Linked DNA regions of Homo sapiens: regions 1 and 2 are each linked to region 3. Evidence: promoter capture Hi-C in human tissues and cell types (Jung and others, 2019). All regions are on one chromosome and are shown on one strand. Each heading gives the region's core, a stretch centred on a gene start or on the middle of the fragment in contact. The rest is flanking DNA. Distances are from core to core; before and after follow the strand shown. Region 1 has its middle 150 kb from the start of LHX5-AS1. Region 2 overlaps LOC105369990 (a long non-coding RNA gene). Region 3 holds the start of LHX5 (LIM homeobox 5).

Region 1 (3,762 bases), core at 297-2,796, 150 kb before region 3:
TCTGTGCCCCGGAGCCTGGTTGGTGGCCATGGGGACAGGGAACTGTCAGAGGAGCTGATGAAAAACAGGCTTTGCTCTAGGGGCTCCAGCACAGCCCAAGAAACCAGAAAATTAGTGATGTTTGCTGAGCAAACATTGCCGGGTGTGGAGAAGCTGCTGGCGGAGTGTTTAACACATAGCTTGTATTTGCTGGCAAATATCCCCACCCTGCCAGGCCCCTCTGATGGGGCTGCTGGTGCACAGAGGATGGGGGAGATCAGGGAGAGCTGTAAGGGTTCCCAGGAGAGGTTCCTGCAGGGGCAAGGAGAGAGGGAGGAAAGGGAGCTCCACAAAGATTCGCCCTGTCTTAAGGGGCCCGAGAAGGCTGGGAGGACACTAGGGGCCTGATCTGAAGGCATGGGGAGAGTCCACTCACTCGCCCCTACCCCAGCCAAGCCAGCCTGGGGTCCACGTAACCTTAGCAGGTCAGAGAGATAGGACCCTTCAAAGGCAAACACCCACTTTCTTGCTGTGCGATGGTGGACAGGTTACAGAGTGTCTCTGAGCCTTGGCCTCATCATATGTAAATAATAAAACAGCTGATATTTCTAAAGCATCTACTACGGGCGCTAACTTCTCTGTGCCTCAGTTCCCCCATCTGTAAAATGGGGACAATATTAGTGTTGCCCTTACATTTTTGGTTTTCCTTTTTATTAAAAAATTTTTAAAACCTATAAAAAAGTTGCAAGATCCATGAACACTTGTATATTCTTATCTGTATTCCCCAATTGCTAATATGTTGACACATATGTCTCCATATGAATTCATCTATCTGCATACCTATCTACTTCATTTTGTTGAGCCATTCGCAAGTTGTAGCCTTGTACCATCTCACCATGAAGTTCTTAGGGTGCATTTCCTAATCACAACATCACCCCCATGTAATTATCCAATTCAGGGACTTTGACTTTGCCACGATTCTCTTATCTAACATACATGTCATACGTTTTGTGAGAAATAAATGAGTAATATTTTAAAGCCCTGAGGACAGTGCCAGGCACAGTGTAAGTGCTCAGTAAATATCTTTTTTTTTTTTTTTTTTGAGACAGGATCTTATTTTGTTGCCCAGGCTGGAATGCAGTGGCACAAACAGTGCTCACTACAGCCTCGACCGCCTGGGCTCCAGCAATCCTCCCACCCCAGCCTCATGAGTAGCTAAGACTACAGGTGCACAGCACCACACCTGGCTAATTTTTAAAATTTTTTAGAAAAGGGGTCTCACTATGTTGCCCAGGCTGGCCTTGATCTTCTGGGCTCAAGTGATCCTCCTGCTTCAGCCTCCCAAAATGCTGGGATTATGGGTGTGAGCCACTATGCCTGGCCCAGTATTATGAATTTTTAAATCAGTGCTGTTATGTTGTTACTGTTGCTGCTATTGTCACTTGGAGCAGAGGGGTCATCACCGTTACGGCCTGTGACCTGGGCTGGCACAGGCCCCTCCCACTCCAGGCCCTGCCCCATTGCTGTCTCCTGGAGTCTGGTCACAGTGAAGGCCCGGAGGACAGATGTCAGCAGATGGATTCCAGCACTTGAGAAGATCTTCCGGGAGTCCAAGGTTTGGCCTTTCAGGGACCACGGGGCTTCCTGTACAGAGCCTCAGGTCTCATCTTCCAAATAGACCCCTAAACTACCCACGACCAGGGTGAAAAGGGAGGAGCTCAATTCTGGGAAGGTACCAATGCTGTATGAAGACCAGGCACACCAGAGATGTGGGGCCAGGGAAGGACTGAGCCAGCCCTGCTGCCAGGATGCTGTGTTAATCCTGGGGCTGGACTTCAGCCTCCTCTTCTGCAAGATGGCAGGTGGGCAGAGGATAAACAGGTTCCTGAGTTCACTTCTCTCCTTCTGGAGTCCCTTCCAGATCATAGATCCACTGCATGCCTGAGACAGCAAATGCTCCTAGAACAGGGGGGAACTATGCAGCCCCATCAGAACCCCCTCCAAATCTGCATTGCACCTCCCGCCATGTTCCTGAAAGCCCCTTCCTCCTCCTGCCCCCTTACCTGAAAGAAGGGCCCAGCCCCGGGGACAGGCATCTGGAGGTGCCTCAGCTTCCTGCCTTCACTGTGCCTACCTCCATGTATGTATCCAAGAGCCTACCCAAACCCCAATGCTTTTAATACCCATTGCCTGGTTTCATTAAAACTGTGGCTTAGTTTCTTTTAGAAATTCATTCATTCATTCATTCACTCAAAAAATATTTCTTGGGCACCTACAATGAACCAAGCCCTGTACCAGGCATTAGAATACAAGACAGACAAAGTATGTGTCCTCATTAAGATGATGTTCTAGTTGGGGGTGGAGGACAATGGATCAAACACAATAATAATAATAATAATAATAATAATAATTGTTAACACTTCTATACTGCTTACTCCATACCAGGCAGTGTTCTGAGCACTTTACATACATCATCTCACTTAATCAGTATTACAATCTCATGAGATGGGTACTAGTATGACCATTTTACAGATAAGAAAAATGTGACACAGAGAGGTTAAGAAACTGCCCAAAGTCACACAGAAAATGAGGGAGGTCCCTGCAGATAGTGCTGAGGGCTACAAAGGAAGTGGAAAGGGGATGTTCTAGGAAGTGACTGGCTGGGAGATGACTTTGGATTCACTGATCTGAGAGGATGACATTTGAGCAGAGACTCACATGATGTGAAGGAGCCAGCAATGATCTCAGAGGACAGTGTTCAAGGCAGAAGGAACCACAGGACAAAGACCCCACAGCGGGAGGAAGCTTGGGGCATGCAAGGAACAGAATGAAGGCCGGCGAGGGGGCCTTCCTTCTGCAAGAGAGGTACAGAGAGGACAGAGATGCTCTCAGCAGCTGGGCTGACTTCTTGCATCCCCATCATTCCCCCTTCTCCATCCCCTCGCTGCCCTGTGCCCATCAGTTTAGGGGACCACCTTGTGCTCAGCCTCTCTCCCCAGATGCTGCCACCAGCAGCCATGCAGGACTTGGGTGTCCTTGACCAGTTGCTGCCATAGTTTGTATTCTTTATCACCAGCAGCCTTCTGGCTCCTCCCAGAGCTCCATCCACCAGCCCAGAGGTGACCTCAAAGAAACCATAAGACCTCTAAGCCATATGTAGAAGACAGCCTCAGTCCCCACGGAGGGATGGCCCCTGCTCCACCTTTACACAGAGACCTCAAGTTTTCAGGAGGCTCTGGACCCAGTTCTTTTCTAGGAAAGCAGCTTCACCAATGGATGCTCAAGTCAAATTTTAGGAGCCTGGTTCTTCCCAAGCCCTTGAAAGGAAAGGAGAGAAGGAAGTCAGAGAAAAATCTGATGGGGTAGGCAAGTTATTCTCCCACTCTGGAGAGGAATGATACTCATGGGACAACCAGGTGGCAGTAAGAAGTGGCCCAGGAGCCAGACATCCAGGTATCAGTGCTGCTCTCTGAGCCACAGTTTCTCCTCTATCACTGTGAAGCAAAGACTGGATCATCCCAGGCCTGATTTTCTTTTTCTTTTTTTTTTCTCTCCATAGGTTTTTGGGAAACAGGTGGTATTTGGTAACAGGAATAAGTTCTTTAGTGGTGATTTGTGAGATTTTGGTGCACCCATCACCCGAGCGGTATACACTGAACCCAATTTGTAGCCTTTTATCCCTCACCCCCTTCCCACCCTTTCCCCTTTAGTTCCAAAAGTCCATTGTATCATTCTTATGTCTCTGTATCCTCATAGCTTAGCTCACACTTACGAGTGAAAACA
Region 2 (4,092 bases), core at 500-2,999, 170 kb before region 3:
AGTAATGGCGGTTACTGATTGAGCTCTTCCCGTTGCCATAACATTTTATATTCTCATTTAATCCTAGAAGATACACCATGATATGGGTAGCGTATTCTTATTTTTCAGATGAGGAAACAGTCTCAGAGAGCAGAAGTGACCTGTGCAAGGTGACAAGGCCAGAAAGTGGTAGAGCTGAGACTTGTGCCAGGTGTGCCTGGCTTCAGGGCCCTAATGACTGCCATTCTGCCTCCACTTAGAGGCCATCAAAGGAAGCAGCTGTAACGACATGGAGAGTCCAAGAGGCCAGGATTCAAGTCCTCCTCCTGCCACATTCCAGTTAACCTGGCAAGATTCCCTTCATCTCTCTGGGCATCCATTTCCTTCCCTGCAAAATGGGCATCATCTCCCTGCCTCCCCAACTGTTGGGGAGGATTTATGATTAGAGAAGTACCCGGCACAGTGATCACAAGGAGATGCTCCAGGAGCCGTCCCCACAGAGGCGAACATGTGCAATGCTCACCTCCCGCATCCCCTCTGCAAAGCAGGAGAATTGGATTTGATCATTTCGAATGCCCCTCTGGCCTGGCTAAGTCTTGGCCTTGATAGTTTGGGGGTCAAATGCTTCTACTTCAGCCCCTGTCAGCCTCTGCCAGGCTCAGAGAGACGTCGGGTCTGAAATGCACCAGTTCAGCCACTCCTGCCTGCTTGCTGGCGTTTCCACGGGCACTGGGTGGCGGCTCCATCCCCTTGGCCATTCCCCACTCAGTGCCCAAGCCTCGCATCCCAATGGGGGGCCATGGGGCTGCGGCTAATTGCAAATCATTTCTCAGGGCTCCCCGCTGTTCGGCTAAATTCACTGGAACTAATGTGTCCCGAAACAAATTTCACAGAAGAGCCAGGGCAATTACATGATGCTTAGTTCTCCTCCCCACGTCCCCCACCCGGGGCTGCTCCGGGCCAGGGGCAGAGAGGGCTGGGTAGAGTGGGGCCGGGAGCTTGGAGGCAGGAGTCTTCTCTGGGACCAGAATGTTCTTCCCTTCCACCTCTGAACCCCCACCTATGGCCCCCTCTTCACTGTACCTTCTGCTCCTAAATCTTATCCCTGCTCTCACAGCACCCAGCATCACCCTTCCTCCCTTCTTGAATTCAGGAGGCATCTTGATGTCTCCGGCAAGCACTGGCTCCAAAACCAGGCAGACTTGAGTTCAAATCCCAGCCTCAGCATTTATTTGCTGTGTGTGCTTAGAAAAGTCACAACCTCTCTGGGCCTGTTTCCGAATCCCTGAAATTAGGATACCATCACTTGGCTGGCATCAGCCAATGTGAAGATTAAGTCAAGCAGCACAAGTGAAATATTTTATGTAGGTCCAGCACATGGTAAGTTCTTGGTAACTATTGGTCCCCTCTGGCACCTACTTCAGTATGATCATTTCAAGGGGATCAGGTGAACCATCTTTTAGGAGCATCAGAATCAATTCCAAACGAGAGGAACCTGAAAGAAAAGACCCAGCCCCCACTCCCAGAACCAGGTACCAGCAAGCCCAATCCCCTGCCTGCTGTTCCACCATTCCATCTCACTCCAGCCTCGTCCTTCCAGATCTCTCCCATCAGAATAATTCTCCCCTTCCTCCAGGGCTCCTCGGCATGTCCCCTGTGTCTCTCTGAGCGCCTTCATTTTGTTTTGCATTGCTGCTGTCTTGGTTGACTAAAGCTGGGTGCAGCGGCTCACGCCTGTAATCCCAGCAACTCAGGAGGCTGAAGCAGGAGGATCATTTGAGGCCAGGAGTTCAAGACAAGCTTGGGCAACATTGTGAGATCTTGTCTCTACAAAAAAATTAAAATAAAGGCTGGGAGTGATGGCTCACGCCTGTAACTCCAGCACTTTGGGAGGCTGAGGCAGGTGGATCCCTTAAGCCCAGGAGTTTGAGACCAGCCTGGCAACATGGTGAAACCCTGTCTCTACAAAAAAAATACAATAATAATAATAGTAATAATTTTTAAAATAAAAATAAAACTTAGCTAAGTGTGATGGCACATACCTGTAGTTCCATCTACTTGGGAGGCTGAGGTGGGAGGATCACTTGAGTCTAGGAGTTTGAGGCCGCAGTGAGCTATGATTGAGTCACTACACTCCAGCCTGGGTGACAGAGAGAGAACCTGTCTCAAAATAAATAAATGAAAATAAAAATAATTAAAGAACCACGTGGCCAAGACATGAAAACCATGCAGGCCAGTTGCCGGTGACCTTTTCCATCATGGTATCTGTGGTGAGCAGCCCCAGATCCTGATGCTATTTGCACCCAGGGGTAACATGTCCCCTCGGGGCTGGTTCTGAGTCCACTCCTTTGCTTTCGACCCAAGACAGCACCAGCCTGACCGCAGGTGCATCAGGGAGACGGTCCTATATGACTGGATTCACATCATCTTTACTTTCCAAAAGTTAGGAAACCAATCACTCACTCCTTTGCACAAAACTTAAACACACCTAAAATGAGTATATTGAAACATCGAAGTCCAATGATGACTTCAGCACATACCTGCTGAGCCCCTCCTAAGTGCCAGTTCCCATGTAAGGGGCTGAGAAGCCAACAGTGAAGACAGACCCAGTCTCTGTCCTTGGCTAACATTCTTGGTAGATGAAAGACATTAAAGAAGCAAAGACACATGATCATATCAGTGCCAAGTACAATTAAGATAATAAAGATAAAACAAAAATGATCCAGTGAGTACTAGATATTTATTAGATGGGGGATCCTAAGATGGTGACATTTCAACTAGAAACTTAGTAACAAGAAAAGGGGCCTGAGGCAAAGTTCCAGGAAGGACCAGCAAGTGCAAAGGCCCTGGGGTAGGAATGCACTGGCGAGGCTAGAGGTGCAGGAGCAAGGTGGAAAGGGGAACAGATGAGATCAGCTGGGCTGGAAGCGAGGGTAAGGTCCTGAGGGTTAGGGGAAGCCACTGGAGGGTTTTATGTAGGGGAAACTGATTTGGGCTTTTAGAAGATCCCTGCAGCTGTGATATGGAGAAGGGATTGGGGGAGGAGTGGAAGCAGAGAGGCCAGTAGCAAAGCTGTCATCTGGGCTCAGACGGGGATGGGGACGCTGCAGAGATGCAATCCCATCCAGTCGTCCAGTCATTGGGGAAACTGAGAGTCCAAGAGGGGACACTGCCTGCCCCAGGCTGCCTGATCAGTCAGTGATGAGGTGCAAATTTGGAGTTCCTGTCTCAGGCCAGGCTCTCTCATTTCACCACCATTAACTGCTCTGTGGGGGAGCCAGGGCAGAGAGAGCTCCAGCTAAGGCTTCCACGCTTCCAGTATTAGAGGACTTACCACTTAAAGAATCCCTGTAGCGTATCCTTTTGTAATGAGAATAATCACCCCTAATTTATCTGCTTCATAAGTTCAGTATCACCTTTCTTTTGAGCGCTGTGAACATATCTGTATTCCTGCCCAGACATAAAATACTATTTTAAAAACATAACTTGGGGTTGCTTATGAGAGCTGTCATGTCAGTGAGCACTTTTGGGGGCACAGGCTGTGCGATTCGTCTCTGTGCCCCACTGGTACATGAGATGCATGCAATAAATAATAATTTAGAAAAATAACAGGCAGCAATGATTCCACCCTTACTATGTGCCAAGCACGTTCATTAATTTCTTCATCTAGTTTTCATAATACAGCTGGAAGTGGGCTCTGTTACTGTCTCCATTTTATAGATGGGGAAACTGAGGCTCAGAGAGGTGAAGCCACTTACCCAGTGTCACACAGCCTGCAAAAGCCAGGCTCGAACCAGGTAACAACTAAAACCATGTCCTGAAACTCAAGGTCTACTGTTTGAGGGAGGGAAGGAAGAAGGGAAAGAAGGAAGGAGGGAGGAAGGGGAGGAAGGAAGGAAGGAAAGAAGGGAGGGAGGGGGAGGGAGCAAGGGAGGGAGGGAGCAAAGGAAGGAAGAGGAAGGAAGGAAGGAGGGATGGAGGGGAGAAGGAAGGAAGGAGAGAGAGGAGAGAGGTAAGGAAGGAAGGAGAGAGAGGAGAGAGGTAAGGAAGGAAGGAGAGAGGGAGGGAAGGAAGGAAGGAAAGAAGGAAGGAAGGAAGGAAGGGAGAGAGGGA
Region 3 (3,903 bases), core at 719-3,218:
AGTGGGCATCCCTGAGCCCCAACACAGGCATCCACAAATCCTGCTCCCTCAACCTCCGAATCCACAAAGGTAAGCGCAGCTAGGAGTACACACACAAACACAAATACAAACATAACCCCCTCACACACACATACACACACACACACAAAAGCCTACAGGAGTTGCATAAACAAAAAACTACTGTTTGCACAAATACACACATTTGCAGGCACACACACACAGCGACTGGCACACAAACATAGCTCTTCAGAATTCTGCACTCACAAACACAACCAAGCCAGCTCAGTCTCATACACACAGGGTCTCAAGCATGCACGCCCTCACCTACACACAAACACACACATTCAGATTTTTCAAAGTACACCTTCACATCAATGCTTGCAAACACAGACACAAACACTCTTACGTGAATGCACACGTACACATGAAAACACCCTCACATTTATGCATCCTCAAATAAGCAAACACACATAGGCACAGACCAACAAAAATAAAAGTGCACACAGTGATAAACACAAACATTAGCAGGACCATACACAATTACAAACACACGAATCTGCACACACGAAAACGCACACGCAGAAATTTACTCACAGGATTGATGGTACTAACACAATAAACAGATGCAAAAATGGAATTCTCAAACAGCGAGTATACACTAACAAGCTCAGGAAACACACCCAAACAAACATTCACAGCCAAGTGCTGGCACAAACCCCTCCAGCTCCAGCCCTTGGTCCCAGGCCCTACTCCCTCAGCCCCCTTTCCAGAAGCGAAAGGCAAATCCTGGTTGCCCATTCCCGGCTTCCCCAACTAGGATCCCTGGTGGCCACGCTGGCCCCAGGGGAAAGGAGGCCTGGTCCCTTCTCCTACTCAGACCCACACACCCCCTCCTCACGCACACCTGCCAACATCCCCCCTCCCCCTTAACACACACACACTCTCTCTCCTCACACTCTGGGCGCCCTGCCGAGCACGGAACATACGTGCGCCGCTTCTCCTGCGCCCAATGAGGGGACGAACTTGCACACCCAGCCCGCACGGCGTGAATACAAACAGCGCTCTCATAGTCGCTGGTGTCCCCCGCCTCAGCCGTACGACCCACTCACCACAGTGCCCCATAGGCTGACCTGGAATCTGGAAGGTGCAGCGAGGAAAGGAGAGACGTGGTGAGTGCCACCTCCGAGCTGTCTGCGGGAAGACCCGTCCACCCTGAATCTCCCCCTGTCCACATCTCCCTCAGAGCCCCGTGAGCAGCGCACTCAGGCCTGAAACTCTGGAGTTCGGGACCAGGCCAAATGGCACCCCTCCTGCTCCCCCGCCTCCCCACCCTGGGCCTGGGCCTGGGCTCGGCGGCCGGGCGGGGAAAACTACCCAGGCCGCGCGGTCTCCACTAGCTCTCTCCATGAGAAAGGCCCGGCTGGGCCCCAGCCCCGTGTATGACAAAAAGAAGCCGGGGCCGGCTCCAGGAGCCGGGAGAACCGCGCTGACGCAGCTTCAGGGCGCAGAGGGGGCGCGGGGGTGGGGGAATCCAATCTGGGCTGGCTGGGCTGGAGAAGGGGAGCGAAGTGTGGGGCGTGGGGCAACTTCTGCAAGTTCCAGGGATGGCGAAGGGGGCAGGGGTACCTCCCGGACTAGGCCTTGGAACCCGTGACCCCCAAATATTTGTGAGGAGAAAGAGAGAGGAAGAGAGACGCAATTTTCGTTTCGCGCTGCCCCCGCCCCGTCAGCCCCAAACTGGAAGGTAAATACTTACTTAGCCTCCGAACCAGGTACAAGCTAATACTCAACAATACTGATGCCTTGTTTTTTTTGCTCTGTCCGGACAGCAACGCTGTAGCCAATTTAGATATGCTATAAATTTAAGAGGTTGCCATGGCCACGGTGCGCCCATTGGCCGCTGGGCCCCCTACGTGCAGCGCCACGTCACCAAATCTGAATAAGGATGCGCGAATTACGCGGCGACCAGACAAAGATGAGGATCCGGACCGCTTGAAAGTGGGGGAAAGTGCCGGCGCCTCCGCCACCGGGGAAAGCCGCTCCGCAGCGCCGAGGCCAGCAGCCACCCGAGATACCTGGGGAAGCCCGGAACAGGCGCCGGGGCGTGCGGCCCGTGGCATGAGGTTGTGAACGCCACCCGCCCCCCACCACCCCACTCCGGGCAGCCCAGCGCCAGGCCAGAGATTGCCCAAGGACTGGACCGGCTGAGTCTTGGTCCGGACCAGACTCGCCCTGCAGCTGCTGAGACAAGAGGCGAAGGGCAGCGGAGGGCCCGGCAGGCCCGAGGGCCAGGGGCCCAAAGGGAGGGCAAGGCGGCCGAAGCCGCCGGGGCGCGGGGCTATGATGGTGCACTGCGCCGGTTGCGAGCGGCCCATCCTCGACCGCTTTCTGCTGAACGTGCTGGACCGCGCGTGGCACATCAAATGTGTTCAGTGCTGCGAGTGCAAAACCAACCTCTCGGAGAAGTGCTTCTCGCGCGAGGGCAAGCTCTACTGCAAAAATGACTTTTTCAGGTAAGAGGCCGCGCCGCTCTGCTGCCTGCGCGCCCACCCTGCGCGCGCTCCACTGGGGCGCTGGGGAAGGGGATACCCCCATCCCCATCCCAGCCTCCCCGGATCACAAGCTTAGATGGGGAGCGGGCAGCACTTTGCTCTCCTCCTGTCCTTGGTCCAGGAAAGGTCCCGAGCCCAGGCGGAGGAAGAAGGACGCTGCTTCGCTGCCTCACGTTGGCTCGAGGCCGGCTCAGAGCGCTGGCGGGGCAGAGGGAGGAAGCCCTGACAAACTTGCTATCCACTCCTCTCCGCCCCTTCCAAGCAGCTGCAACCCCAAGACAGAAGCTTCAAGCCCCGTCCCGAGAGAGAGGAAGGATTTTTGCATGAGTTAGAGACGCCTGAAGGCTTCTCGCTCCAGGCAGAATGTGTGAGCCCATCGGCCGCAATCCCAAACAGAAACTTCTCAGCTCCAGAGGGGGCCCAGCGAGGAAGGTCTCCCCTGGTGATGGGAGGAGAGAACCTCCCCCACCCACCTCCCAACCCCTTAAACATTTCCTCCCATGTTGAAAAGTAGAAACGAAATCGAGGCTGAGAATCAGGACCTCTGGGGTCTAGACTGGGCTGTGGCACCTCCCCAGCCCCCCTACCCCTGTGGGCCCTGTGGCTGGCCAGGGCAGATCACCTCTCTGGGCCTCAGTTTCCCCAGCCTGGAAGCCACTGGAGTTTGGGGCAGCTGAGCCCTACCTGTTTCCTCTGGGCACCCAGAGCCGGCTTTGTGAACAGGAATTCCCCGCGCTGAGGAATGGGGGCGTGAATCACGCCACAGAGAAAGGCAGCCTGCCGGCCCCAGCGACTCCGCACTGAGAATTTGAATGGGAGAAAATGTCAGCCGCTCCTTTACACGTGTTAACTCCCTGGACCCGGAGGCCCGATGCCCCTAATGTAGCAGTGCTTGCAAAGTGCCTAATGATTTTTGATAAGGTGCATATGGCCAATTACGCTGCCGGATAAGGCCAAAAGTGACTTATGGCTTCTAATGCCCTCACTACATCAATGTCACCCAAATTCGCCCTGTTTAGAGACATGGGTGTGAGTAGATGTGGGGTCCCTAGAGTCCTGGGTCCTCCCCCACCCCACCCCCAACCTGAGCCTCACCCATCTCCTATTTCGGGGGAGGCTGGCTTTCTCCCTGAGCTCAAAGAAGAAAGAAAAGGAATGAGATCAGGAACGCGGGAAAGCGGGGATTTGAGAGATTCCTGTCCTGGCCTTGCAGGATCTATGATTGTCCTCTATTCACATTCCCCTGCTGCCTGCCAGGCCAGAGGTTTAGGGGGGCTGAAACTCATCCCTGCTCTCTAGGGTCCATCACTATGAGGCCCTGCTGTCCACAGCTCCTGATTAGCTCCAGCGG

The links. Contacts are between HindIII fragments. The study calls those that stand out against the background at their distance.
Region 1: a contact is called between a fragment that was not itself captured here and the fragment with the promoter of LHX5 in region 3, in 1 of the 25 tissues and cell types used here (stomach).
Region 2: a fragment that was not itself captured here is called in contact with the fragment with the promoter of LHX5 in region 3 in 1 of the 25 tissues and cell types used here (H1 embryonic stem cells).

What each region holds. Positions count from the first base shown.
Region 1 is chr12:113,615,811-113,619,572 of GRCh38, reverse strand. No RefSeq gene overlaps it. Among named protein-coding and RNA genes, the nearest start is that of LHX5-AS1, 150 kb to the right of the region's middle. The HindIII fragment of the contact is 6,396 bases long and covers 1-3,762 here.
Region 2 is chr12:113,642,522-113,646,613 of GRCh38, reverse strand. It overlaps LOC105369990 (a long non-coding RNA gene), which reads right to left. Exons shown (of 4, transcript XR_945348.1): 2 at 3,314-3,429; 3 at 2,520-2,610; 4 at 2,099-2,139. Among named protein-coding and RNA genes, the nearest start is that of LINC01234, 130 kb to the left of the region's middle. The HindIII fragment of the contact is 7,423 bases long and covers 1-4,092 here.
Region 3 is chr12:113,469,936-113,473,838 of GRCh38, reverse strand. It overlaps LHX5 (LIM homeobox 5), which reads left to right and starts at 1,968. Exons shown (of 5, transcript NM_022363.3): 1 at 1,968-2,513. The coding sequence starts at 2,341. It overlaps LHX5-AS1 (LHX5 antisense RNA 1), which reads right to left and starts at 1,836. Exons shown (of 2, transcript NR_126425.1): 1 at 1,757-1,836. RefSeq lists an enhancer at 2,086-2,886. The HindIII fragment of the contact is 9,096 bases long and covers 1-3,903 here.